Regions from separate parts of the Homo sapiens genome. Here regions 1, 3, 4 and 5 are each linked to region 2. The links are contacts of gene promoters, found by promoter capture Hi-C in blood cells and fetal thymus (Javierre and others, 2016). All regions are on one chromosome and are shown on one strand. The core of a region is centred on a gene start or on the middle of the fragment in contact, and the rest is flanking DNA. Distances in the headings are between cores, read along the strand shown.

What was found. The method cuts DNA at HindIII sites, captures the fragments that hold promoters and counts their contacts. A CHiCAGO score of 5 or more calls a contact.
Region 1: a contact is called between a fragment that was not itself captured here and the fragment with the promoter of ZNF384 in region 2, in 4 of 17 cell types (activated CD4 T cells, naive CD4 T cells, non-activated CD4 T cells and 1 more). The highest score is 8.6, in activated CD4 T cells.
Region 3: a fragment that was not itself captured here is called in contact with the fragment with the promoter of ZNF384 in region 2 in 5 of 17 cell types (total B cells, naive CD4 T cells, non-activated CD4 T cells and 2 more); the score reaches 6.6 in total B cells.
Region 4: a contact is called between a fragment that was not itself captured here and the fragment with the promoter of ZNF384 in region 2, in 4 of 17 cell types (naive B cells, non-activated CD4 T cells, erythroblasts and 1 more). The highest score is 7.9, in naive B cells.
Region 5: a fragment that was not itself captured here is called in contact with the fragment with the promoter of ZNF384 in region 2 in 3 of 17 cell types (non-activated CD4 T cells, activated CD4 T cells and naive CD4 T cells); the score reaches 9.6 in non-activated CD4 T cells.

What each region holds. Positions count from the first base shown.
Region 1 is chr12:6,909,358-6,912,057 of GRCh38, reverse strand. LRRC23 (leucine rich repeat containing 23) reads right to left here. Exons shown (of 8, transcript NM_001135217.2): 6 at 2,032-2,168. Among named protein-coding and RNA genes, the nearest start is that of ENO2, 3.9 kb to the left of the region's middle. The HindIII fragment of the contact is 2,135 bases long and covers 365-2,499 here.
Region 2 is chr12:6,688,047-6,690,746 of GRCh38, reverse strand. ZNF384 (zinc finger protein 384) reads left to right here and starts at 1,372. Exons shown (of 12, transcript NM_001385745.1): 1 at 1,372-1,649; 2 at 2,521-2,580. RefSeq lists silencers at 1,254-1,333, 1,414-1,523 and an enhancer at 894-1,520. The HindIII fragment of the contact is 17,984 bases long and covers 1-2,700 here.
Region 3 is chr12:6,499,056-6,501,755 of GRCh38, reverse strand. The region is part of intron 2 of NCAPD2 (non-SMC condensin I complex subunit D2); the gene reads right to left. Among named protein-coding and RNA genes, the nearest start is that of NCAPD2, 6.3 kb to the right of the region's middle. The HindIII fragment of the contact is 435 bases long and covers 1,059-1,493 here.
Region 4 is chr12:6,538,746-6,541,445 of GRCh38, reverse strand. IFFO1 (intermediate filament family orphan 1) reads left to right here. Exons shown (of 10, transcript NM_001193457.2): 10 at 858-1,907. The coding sequence ends at 963. Among named protein-coding and RNA genes, the nearest start is that of GAPDH, 5.6 kb to the right of the region's middle. RefSeq lists enhancers at 567-706, 737-886, 1,667-1,876. The HindIII fragment of the contact is 6,612 bases long and covers 1-2,700 here.
Region 5 is chr12:6,930,259-6,932,958 of GRCh38, reverse strand. All of the region lies in intron 1 of ATN1 (atrophin 1), which reads right to left. Among named protein-coding and RNA genes, the nearest start is that of ATN1, 3.6 kb to the right of the region's middle. The HindIII fragment of the contact is 1,254 bases long and covers 653-1,906 here.

The DNA.
Region 1 (2,700 bases), core at 183-2,682, 220 kb before region 2:
TCATCTCCTAATGTGCCTCATTATATGATACTCTGTTTTTATTTTATTTTTATTGAGACAGGGTCTCACTATGTCACCCCGGTTGGGGGTGCAGTGGCATGATCATAGCTCACTGCAGCCTTGAATTCCTGGGCTCAAGTGATCCTCTCACCTTAGCTTCCTAAGTACCTCCAGGCATGTGCCACCACACCTGGCTAATGTTTAAATTTTTTGTAGAGACTGGGTCTCACTATGTTGCCCAGGTTTGTCTTGAACGCCTGGCCTCAAGCAGTCCTCTTGCCTTGGCCCCCCCAAAGTGCTGGGATTACAGGCGTGAGCCACCATGCCTGGAATTTTATTTATTTTCATGTTCTGGCTTTAAGCTTTTATGAAATCTATTTAAGTGTTTCAGCCTGATCTCATGGTCGTGCTGAGCCTCATGCAGTGTTTCTCACCAGGAGGGCTACAGGAACTTTGTACTGGACTCTGCCATACATTGTTGGATGCTTAGCATCTCTGGCCCCAGAGGCACCTGCCAATCATTGAGACACCCTCACCCCCCTCCACACACACACCCGACTTACTCTCAAAACATCCCCATTTAATAGCCACTCAGGAAGGGTCCATCATGCCTGTCTAGATCATTAACAGGAAGATGGCACAGATACACACCCCACCAGATCCGTGTGGCAGAGTTCATGAATAAGAGAATGCCCAGGGGGTCAGGATGAGAGTTGGGGCTTCCAGATGCAACCACCTCTCCCTACTTGGAGATGCTCTTTCCATTACCAGCTCAAGAATCTGGTCTTGTTGACTAAGGAAAGAGGCAGTTTCCTTACATGTTTGCTGAAATAAACACACATAAAGTCCTCCATCCGACAAGAGTTGCTGATCTTCAGTGCCTTTCTACCAAAAGATTTTCTTACAAATGTCCTTCTCTCCTCAAATCTGAGCACATCTTGTGTTTTTTTAATCAGTAAAAAGGTCATCCCTTACAGGTGGGGCTCAGGAGAAGAGAGGCAGGAAATGGGAAGGTGAATTGGGACCGAGGAAATGGAGAAGGGCAGTGGAAACTTATATAGGATAGGGTGAGGAAAAAAGAGTTGGAGCCAGACTGTGAGCCCCTTAGGAACAGGAATCACCTCTGATTCCTTTCTTTCTTTTAGAGACAGCTCACTCTGTCACCCAGGCTGGAGTGCAGTGGCACAATCATGGCTCACTGCAACCTTGAACTCCTGGGCTCAAGTGATCCTCCAACCTCAGCCTCCTGAGTAGCTGAAACCACAGGTGTGCACCACCAGGCTCAGTTAATTTTTATTTTTAATTTAATATTTTAATTTTTATTTAATATTTTATTTTTGTTTTGTTTTTGAGGCAGGGTCTGGCTCTGTCACCCAGGCTGGAGTGCAGCGGCTTTATCTCAGCTCACTGCAAACTCCACCTCGAGGCTCCAGCGATCCTCCCGCCTAAGTCTCCTGAGTAGCTGGGATTACAGGTGCCTGTCACCATGCCTGGCTAATTTTTGTATTTTTGGTAGAGATGGGATTTTGCCATGTTGCCCAGACTGGTCTTGAACTCCTAGGCTCCAACGATCTGCCCACTTCGGCTTCCCAAAGTGCTAGAACTACAGGTGTGAGCCACCATGCCGGGCCATTATTTTCACTTCTGTAGAAACATGGTCTCACTAGGTTGCCCAGGCTGGTCCTGAACTCCTGGCCTCAAGTGATCCTTCCTCCTAAAGTGCTGGGAGTACAGGCATGAACCACCATGCCCAGCCTCTGATTGCTTTAAATGTCCCCAAAACACAGCACAAGGCCTGGCACATAGCACATTCTCAATAATTGTGGATTGAATGAATAAAAATTCAGGGGTCACAAGCTATAAGGGATTTAGTGTTGCAACTCAGTGCAGAAGAAAGGAAGGAAAGCCGGGCTTTCCTTGAGAATCCAGCTGTGGGCTAGGACTGGGGGATTGGGCCAGGGAAGAACACAGACTCAAAAGCTGCACCTGGTCAGGGGTAGGGGCAAGGTGGGGCTTGGAGAGGGTGCATACCTCAGGTTGAGGTACTGCAATGATTTCATTTCTCTGGAGAAGCCACTCAGGGTGTCAATCTGGTTGTCTCGAAGATGCAAGGTGGTGAGATTGCTCAGATCCTCCAAGCCTTCCACCTTCTTCAGCATGTTTTGGGCCTAGACCCCCAGGGCACAGTGGATTGATTGAGAGGGAGCAGGGATAGGGAAGAAAGAGAAGTCAGAATGAGATAAAGCAAAAGAGGAAATCCAAGAGGTAGAGAGGGAGGAGTGGAAGAAAGGAGTGGGGGTGAGTAGAGATCAGTATAGAAAGTAAAGAAGTTCAGGAGAAGCTGCCATCCCAGAGAAAGGTCAGCAGTAACCCTCTACCATTCGCCCCATCAAAGCCACTTGGGATGGAGGAGATGCTTCAACCCACCCCTACCCGGCCCAGGAGCCCCCAGGCCACCACTGAGGATTGGCATCAGCACCATCCCAGAATAACGAAGCTTAAGAGTCTAAAAGACTAAATATTTCAGTGGCTTCCTGTGGAGTTATTATATATATAATATATAATATATTATATAATATATAAAATATATATTATATATTATATATTATATACTATTATATATAATATTTATATATTATATATAATATACTATTATATATAATATTTATATATTATATAAAATATATTATATATAATATA
Region 2 (2,700 bases), core at 123-2,622:
CTAGGGAGGCTGAGGCAGGAGAATCGCTTGAACCCAGGAGGCAGAGGTTGCAGTGAGCCAAGATGGCGCCAATGCACTCCAGCCTGGGCAACAGGGTGACACTCTGTCTTTAAAAAAAAAAAAAAAAGGTTATTTTTCTCAGCAAGAGGCTCTTACCATTAGTAGGAGAGACCTCAGTTCTGCTTAGAGCTGAGCCCAGGGGGATTCTGGCCAGGTCGGGGTGCACGCTTGTAACAGCATTCACTTGTTCAAACAACATATTCAGCATTTACTATATGCTCAGCAAAGCAACGTATTTCCTTCCATGAGGAACTGACAATCTTGCTGGGGAATCACATGTATGAAATAGTTAAAATATCAATAAAAGGTACGTATTAAATACTATGGGAATTCAGAGGGACCATTACAGGTTGGAGCAATCAGGCAAGGCTTCCTAAAAGGGTTCATATTTAGGTGTTCATAATGAACTATAGTTCATTTATACAACAAGAGTTTACAGACCACTTAACTGCCAGGATATGAGGATACAGCAACGAACAATTCAGTCCTCGCTGTCCTGTAGCCAATATTTTAGTTGGGAGAGGTGGACAGCAAACAATAAATCAGGCAGTAATAAGTGCTATATTTAAGTAAAACAGGGTAAGGGGATAGAGATGTGGGTATGGGCAACAAGAAAAGACCAAAGTAAAGTAAGGGATGTGTCAGAGAGACAGATTTTGATGGCTGGGAGAGTTTCTAACTGGACCTAAGTAGGGACCTCCGAAAAACAAGGATACGTCCTAGTCCTTTCCCGCATATTCAAAGCATTGAGACATTCTTGGGGGTATCAGAAAAAATAATGGTAATTTCCTACATCAGCTTATTCAACATCCAGAGGGAAGAGAAACGGGGTCCCAGCATCTGAAGAACCCACACCTCCTCTCCTACCTTGATGGATAATTCATGAACCTGTCGCGTTTCCACCCCCCCACCTTCCCCAGATGTCCCTTCCGGAAGCTCAGGGCCGGAGTCCTCCGGTTTCAGCTTTTGCCCCTAGCGGAACCCGCCTTCACTTCCGCTATAGCGTCACATCCCCTCTTCCCAGTCGCTGGGCAGAAGCTATTTCCGCCCCGAGTTATCGTAACTTCTGCCCTGAATATCTCGCAGCGCTAGCGGCGCCGGAAGTGTTCCAGCCACTCCCGGAAGTGACTCGGCTTCTGCACGCCCCTCTTTCTCCATTAGCGCCCCCCCTACATTGCTATTTCCCTCCCTCCCCCCTTTTCGTTTCCGGCGCTCCCGCCTTCTCTCCGCAGAGCTCTTCTCTGAGCCTGTTGGGGGGAGGGAGGGGGGCGTGGAGGAACTGGGGTTCGCGGGAGCACGAGCTGCAGCACCACTTCCGGGTGAGTGCAAGGGGAGGGCAGCAAGGAGGGGGGGCCACCCACTACCTCGCGCCCCCGCCCTGCGGGTGTCTCGCGCGCGTTCCGTGCGTGTGAGTGTGTGGGTCTGTCTCGCTCCAGAAGTGCGTGCCCGCGCGCTGCGCCTTGCGCTTTTTCCCCTCCCTCGCCCCTTCCTGGTCCTCCCACCCTCCTCGGCTCCCTCCTTTCCCAGCAAACGCCGCCCCTCCCGCGCCCTGGCTCAGGCTCTGGCGCCGCCGCAGCCGTCGCCGCCCGGTGAGTCTCGCGCCGCTACAGCCGGCGCGCGCCAAGCTGCTTGCTCCTCCCCCCTCCCCTTTTCCTTGGGCAGGCGGGGAAGGGGGGGTCCACGATGTGACTGTGTGTGTGTCCGTCCCGGAACCGGAAGTGGTTGTGGAGGAGCGGGCGATGGGAAGGAATGGGGGGGTTTAGGGGGCGGGTGCCTGTCTGGTGGGTGGCAGAGTTCAGCTCCCTGGAGGGGAAGGAGGGACGTCCCAAGGAAGGGTCTTTGAGAAAGGGGTAGGGGACGACATCAGGAGAAGGCTCCCAGGAACTGTCTCAGGGGAGCGAAGGTTTTGAGGGGACAGCTGGGGTCTCCAGTAGATAGACCACGGTGCAGGCTGAGGGAGGTACTTCTTGGCACAAGGCCTCGGGTAGGCAGGGGGCGAAGTCCTCGAAGAAGTGGGGGGAAGGCTAGAGGAAGTGGCTGGGCCTGAACTGGCACTGTGCCTGCCACAAGGTCTTGTGCATCCCCCAGCCCTCAGCTTTGCCTTCTGAAGCCACTCCTCAGGGGCACAGACCCTCCTCCTCCTCCATCTCTAATGTTCTCTGACCCCTGGTTACCTGTGGCCTGGGAACGAACAAGGACCAGTCTCTGAGCCTAGGAGTGAAACCCAAACGCTGGTGATAGAATTCGTCTTAGTTTCTGGGAATTGGATTTATTTCTCTTGTATCCACGTAGAGGGTAGCACTAGACTGCTGTTATTATATCCACCCGTCTTTGGATTGCTGGCTGGGGGGTCTGCCTGCCTTCCAGACTGACTGCTGACAAATAATTCCTGAGGTTCTCCACAGTTCTCTGGTGGCTGCACCCTGCCTGGCCCCTGTAACCTAGACAATTTGTTTACAGAAAGTTCAGGAGCCCTGGAAAGGAGAAGGAATAAGACGGCAGGAGGAAGAGAGAGAGAGGGTAAGATGATTTTTGGGTTAATGGCTTTTCTGGTTTTGGGGGAGAAGGGGTCACAACCAAATGGGGCGTGTGTGTGTTTCACAATGTGATAGAATACTTAAAGTAATAGCAATTGTAATG
Region 3 (2,700 bases), core at 27-2,526, 190 kb after region 2:
CCTCCTAGCCTCTAAATGCTGGACTGTCTCAGGTCTTGGTCTTCAAACTGCTGCTCTTCTCCATCTACACTCACTGCAATCTCATGGCTTTAAGTGCTGTCTACACGCTGAGTATTAAATCCTAAATGTGTATCTTTAGCTGACAACCTCTCCCTTGAACTCTGCACTCACATAACCAACAATCTAAACCTCTCCCTCCCATATGCTACCCCATCTCAGTAAATGGCAACTTCATTCTTCTAGTTGCTCAAGTCAAAAAGCCTTGTAAGGCCGGGTGTGGTGGCCCACGCCTGTAATCCCAACATTTTGGGAGGCCGAGGCAGGCAGATCACTTGAGGCCAGAAGTTCAAGACCAGACTGGACAACACGGCAAAACCGCATCTCTACTAAAAATACAAAAATTAGCCAGGTGTCGTGACCCTGGGAGGCGGAGCTTGCAGTGAACCGAGATGGTGCCACTGCACTCCAGCCTGGGCGAGAGAGCGAGACTCTGCCTAAAAAAAAAAAAAAAAAAAAAAAAAAAAAAAATTAGCCAGGCGTGGTGGTGCACACCTGTAATCCTAGATACTCAGGTGGCTGAGGCATGAGAATTGCTTGAACCTGGGAGGCAGAGGTTGCAGCGAGCCAAGATCACGCCACTGCACGCCAACCTGGGTGACAGAGCCAACAGAGCAAGACTGTCAAAAAAAAAAAAAAAAAGCCTTGTAATCATTCTCATCTCAGATTCCTTTACTAACCCTATAATCCAATCCAATCCATCAGCATTCCTGTAAAAGCTCTACTTTGAAAATATATCCTGAGTCGTTTTATCACCACTTCCCCTGCTATCCCTCCAGTCCAATCTACTTGGTATTACTGTATTAGCCACTTAACTAGTATCCCTGCTTCTCTCCTTGCCTCTTATAGTCTCTGCTCAACACAGTCGCCAGTGAATCTTTTAAAATGTCAGACCATGTCACTCCCATGCTCAAAACCCAATGGCTTTCAAGTTCATTCACACTGAAGTTCAAGTTTTTGCCATGATCTACGAGGCTCTAGAGATCAGTGCTTCTCAAGCTTATAATTGCATCCAAATTGCCTGGGGGAATCTTCTTAAAATACAGATTTCCTGATTCAGCAGCTTTGACATCCTGGGCCTTGACATCCTGCATTTCTAATAAGCTCCCAGATCATGAGATCCTGATATTAACACTGCTGATCTGAGGACCACATTTTGAGGAGCAAGATTCTAGAATAATCTGTACCACTTCCTACCTAATCTCTTTTTCCTAGCTTAATGCACTCCAACTCTATTGGCATTTGCCCACCTCAAGGCCTTTGCATAGGCTTTTCTGTTTGCTTGGAATGCTCTTCCCTAACAATCTGCATAGTTTATTTCCTTACTTTCTTAAGGTCTCTGCTCAAACGTGACGTAACAGCAAGCCTTCTCTGATGATCCAACATGAAATGACAGGTCCTACTATCTTCTTCTTTATATTATTTATTTTTAAGCTTTGTATAATTAATTTTAGAGACTATGTTGCCCAAGCTGGTCTTGAACTCCTGGCCTTAACAATCCTGCTTCTGCCTCCCAAGTGGTTGGGATTACAGGGACAAGCCACCATTCCCAGTACACTTCTTTTTTTTTCTTTTTTGAAACAGGGTCTAGCTCTGTGGCCAGGTTGCAGTGCAGTGGCATGATCATGGCTCACTGCAGCCCCTGCCTCCTGGGCTCAAGCAATTCTCCCACCCCAGCCTCCCAAGTAGCTGGAACTACAGGTGTGCACCACCACGCCTGGCTAACTTTTTTGTAATTTTGGTAGAGATGGGGTTTCACCATGTTGGCCAGGCTGGTCTCAAACCCCTGAGCTTGAGCAATCCAACCACCTTGGCTTCCCAAAGTGCTAGGATTACAGGTGTGAGCCACTGCGCCTGGCCACACTGTCTTCTTTATTTTTCTCTTTGGCTCTTACAACCATCTTACACACAGTGGTCCTCACCAATCTGTGTTCTCACTTTCTGGGGTTTCAGTTACCCGTGGTCAATCTCAAGTCTGAAAATATTAAATGAAATATTCCAGAAATAGGCTGGGCACAGTAGCTCACGCCTATAATCCCAGAACTTTGGGAGGCCAAGTTGGGCAGATCACCTGAGGTCAGGAGTTCGAGACCAGCCTGGCCAACATGGTGAAACCCCAGCTCTACTAAAAAATACAAAAAAAATTAGCTGGATGTGGTGGTGGGCACCTGTAATTCCAGCCACTTGGGAGGCTGAAGCAGGAGAATTGCTTGAACCTGTGAGGTGGAGGGTGCAGTGAGCCGATACCTTGCCACTGCACTCCAACCTGGGCGACAGAGCAAAACTCCGTCTCCAGAACAACAAAAAAACCCCCCAAGAATTAGCCAGGCGTGGTGGCACTTACCTGTAGTCCCAGCTGCTTGGGAAACTGAGGCAGGAGAATTGCTTGAGCCCAGGAGGTGAAGGTTGCAGTGGGCTGAGATTGAGCCACTGCACTCCAGCCTGGTCAACAAAGCAAGACCCTTATCTTAAAAAAATAAAAAGAAAGAAAGAAAGAAATATTCCAGAGATACACAATTCATAAATTGTAGGTTGTGTGTCATTCTGAGTAGCATAAAATCTGGTGCTGCCCTGCCGCCTCCTGCCTGGGATGTGAACCATCCCTTTGTCCAACATATCCACACTGTATATGCAACCCTACTC
Region 4 (2,700 bases), core at 140-2,639, 150 kb after region 2:
CCCCAGAGACCCTCAGGCAATGACTGGGTCACATCTTGCTGTGGGGCTGCCCTTTGGGAGTTACCTGGTGGGGCTGGCCCAGACCCACAGCTCTCTCCCTTGGCAGTTGGATGAGCTATGTCCATTCATGACGGGAGGGCTGAAACCTCCCAAGGCCACCAGCTCTGGTGGTTCCCCTGGTTAGAGGCAGTTTAAAAACTGGCAAGGAACAGAAGGGTTGTGGGGGCAGATTTTTATCTAAAGTCAGGGCCATGATTTGTGCATTTGACCCTGTGTAAGTTACACCGCAACAAGAAAGTGAATTTTTAAAAATCACAAAAATACTGCAGATAGACATAAAGCCAAGGCCCTAGAGTCAGGGTGCTGGAGGCTCAGCAGCTTCTCTCCTACTGTGACTTCAGCTATTTCTTTTTTTTTTTTTTTTGGCTCACTACAACCTCCGCCTCCCAGGTTCAAGTGATTATCTTGCCTCAGCCTCCAAGGCGCCCGCCACCACACCTGGCTAATTTTTGCATTTTTAGTAGAGATGGGGTTTCACCATGTTGGCCAGGCTTGCCTTGAACTCCTGACGTCGTGATCCACCCGCCTCTGCCTCCCAAAGTGCTGGAATTACAGGCGTGAGCCATCATGCCTGACCTCAGCCTCTGAGTTCCCAAGACACAGGCGGGGCCCATTTCCCTGTCAGGGTGGGTTTGGAGAGAGTTCAGTCCCTGCCGCTCCCTCGCCATCCCGCGGCCCCGCCCTCGCTTCCGGTACTTCTCACGGGCTGCCAGAGGGTGAGGCAGCAGGAGGAGGAGTGCCGTCCGTCTTCAGGATTCCTGCCTGCCCCAAGGTTGACAACTGGTGTTTTTTTCTAGAAAGTCTCCTGCTTTCACTGCGGTCCCGCTTAGCGACCCGCCGCCGCCGCCAAGCGAGGCTGAGGACTCCGATCGCGATGTCTCATCTGACAGCTCCATGAGATAGAGACCTGCCTCCCCCTTGCACCCGAGGCCCTCGCAGCAGGGAGCTCAGCGAGGCAGAGGGTGGGGCTGCACAGAGGGGAACATCAGCTGCAGCTCTGCACCAGGCCGGTCCCTGGGGACTGGGGCGCTCCTCCCTCAGGCTTTCTCCCTCAGTCTTGGCTTCTCCAGGGCTCTGGGGTGTCTGGAGCTAGGCTTGGCCCTACCATTCTGGGGCCATTTCCACCACAGTTGGGGCTCTCCTGCCTTCACGCGTGGGTGTCTGCTACTTCCCCATCTTTAAAATGCTGCCAGAGCGATTGCGGCCCCTCACCTTGTCCACGTATCAGGAATGTGAATGTGGGACCTTTCCTCCATCCCTGTTGTCCGGAGCCAGCTCACTGTCTTCCACACTGGTGCTAACTGGCCCAGGCACTGGAGTGGAATAGAATGCAGCTGGAGGCTACGCATGGCCTCTGCAGCACACGCAGCTGGAGAGGGCTTCTGTCCCTGTCAGCGGCAGAGGGCGTTGGGGCTGGCCGGGGCACCTTGTCCCTGCTATGGTCCACGTGCTCACGCTGTCCACCTGCCAGGTGGAGTGTATGTGGCTGTGGCCCTCCCTCGTGGAGGTGCCGTGCTTTAAAGAGGCCTTAGTGCCCGGGATGGGCACAGTGTTTTGAAGGGAGGTGGGAGCTCTTGCTCTCCTGGTCACTGCAGAATGACAGAGAAGGTGAAGCTCCATGCATGTGTGCGCGGGTGTATGTGCGCTCAGGGTCTCTGTTTAAGTATCAGCTAAAGATGTGCTTCCTCCGTGTCTGTCATACACTGAGACCAACAGGCTACAGTGTCCCTGATTCTTGGAAAAGCCTGGAGAAGCTGGGGAGATGCGGTTCACAATGCCTCGGTATAGGAGGCTGTGTTGAGCTGACATTCAAATGGATTCTTTAATAATAATGAAACTGGCGAGTATTTATTGTGCACTTTGGTGTCACTGTCTCAAGCACTTCCTAATATTCACTAGTTTGAACTCTGAGGTAGGTACTTTTTTTTTTTTTGAGATGGAGTCTCATACTCTGTTGCCTAGGCTGGAGTGCAGTGGTGTGGTCTCAGCTCACTGCAGCCTCTGCCTCCGGGGTGCAAGCGATTCTCCTGCTTCAGCATGCCTGTAGCTGGGACTATAGGCATGTGCCATGAAGCCTGGCTGATTTTTGTAATTTTAGTAGAGACGGAGTTTCACCATGTTGGCCAGGCTGGTCTCAAACTCCTGACCTCAGGTGATACACCCACCTTGGCCTCCCAAAGTGCTGGGGTTACAGGCGTGCGCGCTCTACCGAGGTATGTACTTTTGTCTCCACTAGGTAAGCACACGTGCAAAGTGAGGCCCGGGAGTAACTGCCCAAAGCAACTGAGCCGTTCAGTGGCAGAGCCAGGGGTCTGGACCTAGGTCCCAGCTACACGCCTTGCCCCTACCCAAGTTCCCCTAAGGACGATGATGGAAATAAGTCACCCTGACACATCTCAGTTCATCTTCCTCAAAACTATGCGAGGTGGGCATTTTTACCGATTTTTAAACATTATATAGTCCTTACCGCCTTGGGCATGGTTTTAGGTACTTGGTTTACCTAGATGAATCCTGCTTGAAGACCTTAGGGGCTGGCCACGATGTCCTCAGATAAGACACGAGGGCACAGAAAGCAATAGAGCACGTGCTCAAGACCTCACAGCTGCGGAGGCCAAGCTGGAATTGCCCGCTGCAGCTCAG
Region 5 (2,700 bases), core at 30-2,529, 240 kb before region 2:
TATTCTCCTCAGAAGTTGCTGGGGAGAATTCTCAGAAGGCCTAGATCAGTCACAGAGATATGAAAAGAATCTTTTCTCACATCAGAGTAGGTAGAAGAAGAATGTCCCATTCTATAATACAAAGGAACACAGCCCTACCAATCCCAAGACTAAACCTAGGTAGCCCCAAATTGTAGAACTTCATTTTTGAGAGCCCCATAAAGGACCCATTCTCTAGTACTTGAGCTCCCTAAGGCTAGAGGAAAAGTCAGGGTTTTCACATGAATGATTAAAGACTCAAAATATCCGTGAGCAAACAACACAGATGTACCAGTTTTTAAGCCTATCCTCCTACTTGGTGTAGACTGGGTTACACAGTTTCTCACAGCCAATCCATCCGTATCTGTCTATCAGCAGGTATCTATCTTTATCCAAATCCCTATAGCCAGCTGTATTCATTTGCACTTGTTTGTATTTCTTGCTAAGTGTCAAGTCCCTCCAAATTACTGATTGTAAGATCTTTTGAGAGCAAAAATGGTATTTTCTTACTGTTTTCTTCCTTTCCACTGATGTGTGTGCGCTCTTCTTGTGATTGACCTTTAAACCCACTAACATCAGTAGGTCTTTCTTCCTGAATTAAGTGCTGCTAGCTCCAGTGGGAACAGACTAAGCTTACCCATGTATTCTATTCTGAGTTGGAGGCCTGCTAGGTAAACGGCATGTCCATATTCTGTAGTGTATTTTTTCCCAAGAAACACAGTAATTCTCACTCACCTCCACGGAACCATACTGATGCAGGCAGTAAGGGGTGAGTCTAACCTTTCCAGGAAACTTCACAATTTACTTAGAATCACAAAATTGCTGGGACAGAGCCTATCTTCTGAACTTTCAACTGATGCTCTGCCCAGTAGACTTGTCTTTTTTTTTTTTTTTTTTTTTTTTTTTGAGACAGAGTTTCACTCTTGTTGCCCAGGCTGGAGTGCAGTGGCGTGATCTCACTCACTGCAACCTCTGCCTCCCAGGTTCAAGCGATTCTCCTGCCTCAGCCTCCTGAATAGCTGGGATTACAGGCATGCACCACCACACCCGGCTAATTTTTTGTATTTTTAGTAGAGACAGGGTTTCACCATGTTAGTCAGGGTGGTCTCGAACTACTGACCTCAGGTGATCTGCCTGCCTCGGCCTTCCCAAGTGCTGGGATTACAGGCGTGAGCCACTGTGCCCGGCCAACTAGTTTTCTTTTTTTTTCCTTTTTTTTTTTTTTGAGATGGATCTTTGCTCTTGTTCCCCAGGCTGGAGGTGCTATGGCATGATCTCAGCTCACTGCCACCTCCGCCTCCCAGGTTCAAGCGATTCTCCTGCCTCAGCCTCCCAAGTAGCTGGGATTACAAGCGCACACCACCACACCTGGCTAATTTTTGTATTTTTAGTAGAGACGGAGTTTCACCATGTTGACCAGGCTGGTCTCGAACTCCTGACCTCAGATGATCCACCTGCCTCAGCCTCCTAAAGTGTTGGGATTACAGGCGTGAGCCACCATGCCCGGCCTTTTTTTTTTTTTTTTTTTTTTCAACTACAGCTATTTTCCCACATTTTTTAGTTGTTATGTAGACTGGTTTTAAAATACTATCAACCAAAAAAAAAAAAAAATCCGAAGAACAACACCCACCATAGCAAAAGAGGAAAACAATCTTAAACAAAAAGCACAACAAAGATGACTATTTGTGATTGGTGTATTTTTGCCAGCCCTCCTAGAGAAGGGTGTCCATCTCCCTTCCCCATCACAGAACCTGTTCACCAAGTCAGTTAGGTTAGGGGATCCAAAAGGTCAGAGAAACACAGGAATGTACCTGAGGAACACAGCAATCATAGTATGCCCTTCTTTTTTAATCACCTGAAATCTGATAAAAACTAGCAATGAGAAGCTTTGAAGGAGAAAAGCAGTCATAAAAGAACAAGTAATCCTGGGGATAAGGAGTGGCAGACGAGGAAAGGAGTTAGGGGTGGATTGTGTGTCTTTCTAGACCTGGGTCATGTTTTAGCACCAGCCTACACTCCTAGCAGGCAATCACTGTAACTAATATTACAGAGCACCTACTCTGTATCTGGCCACATACTAAGCACATTCACCTTCATTACCTTGCTTTATTTTATTTATTTATTTATTTATTTATTTATTGAGACGGAGTCTCACTCTGTCACCCAGGCTGGAGTGCCGTGCCGCGATCTCGGCTCGGCTCACTGCAAGCTCCACCTCCCGGGTTCACGCCATTCTCCTGCCTCAGCCTCCTGAGTAGCTGGGACTACAGGCGCCCGCCACCACGCCCGGCTAATTTTTTTGTATTTTTACTAGAGACGGGGTTTCACCGTGTTAGCCAGGATGGTCTCAATCGCCTGACCTCGTGATCCGCCCGCCTCAGCCTCCCAAAGTGCTGGGATTACAGGCGTGAGCCACTGCGCACTGCCATTACCTTACTTTAAAAAGAAAATGATTAAGACCAGACTGGGTTGGGAGGAAAGTGAGAACTAGAAAAAGAGCCCCTAAGTAAGAACAGGAAAAGAAATTAAGAGAGAAATATGGGATGTCAGAAGGAATACAGTGGAGTCACAAGCTCTCTGGGAGGGGCTCGCAGGCTAAATTTCAGGATCATTGGCCCAGCCCCCAACATCATTCTGGACCTGCCAGACTAACAAACCAGTCCAAAGTGACTCCTAGATAAC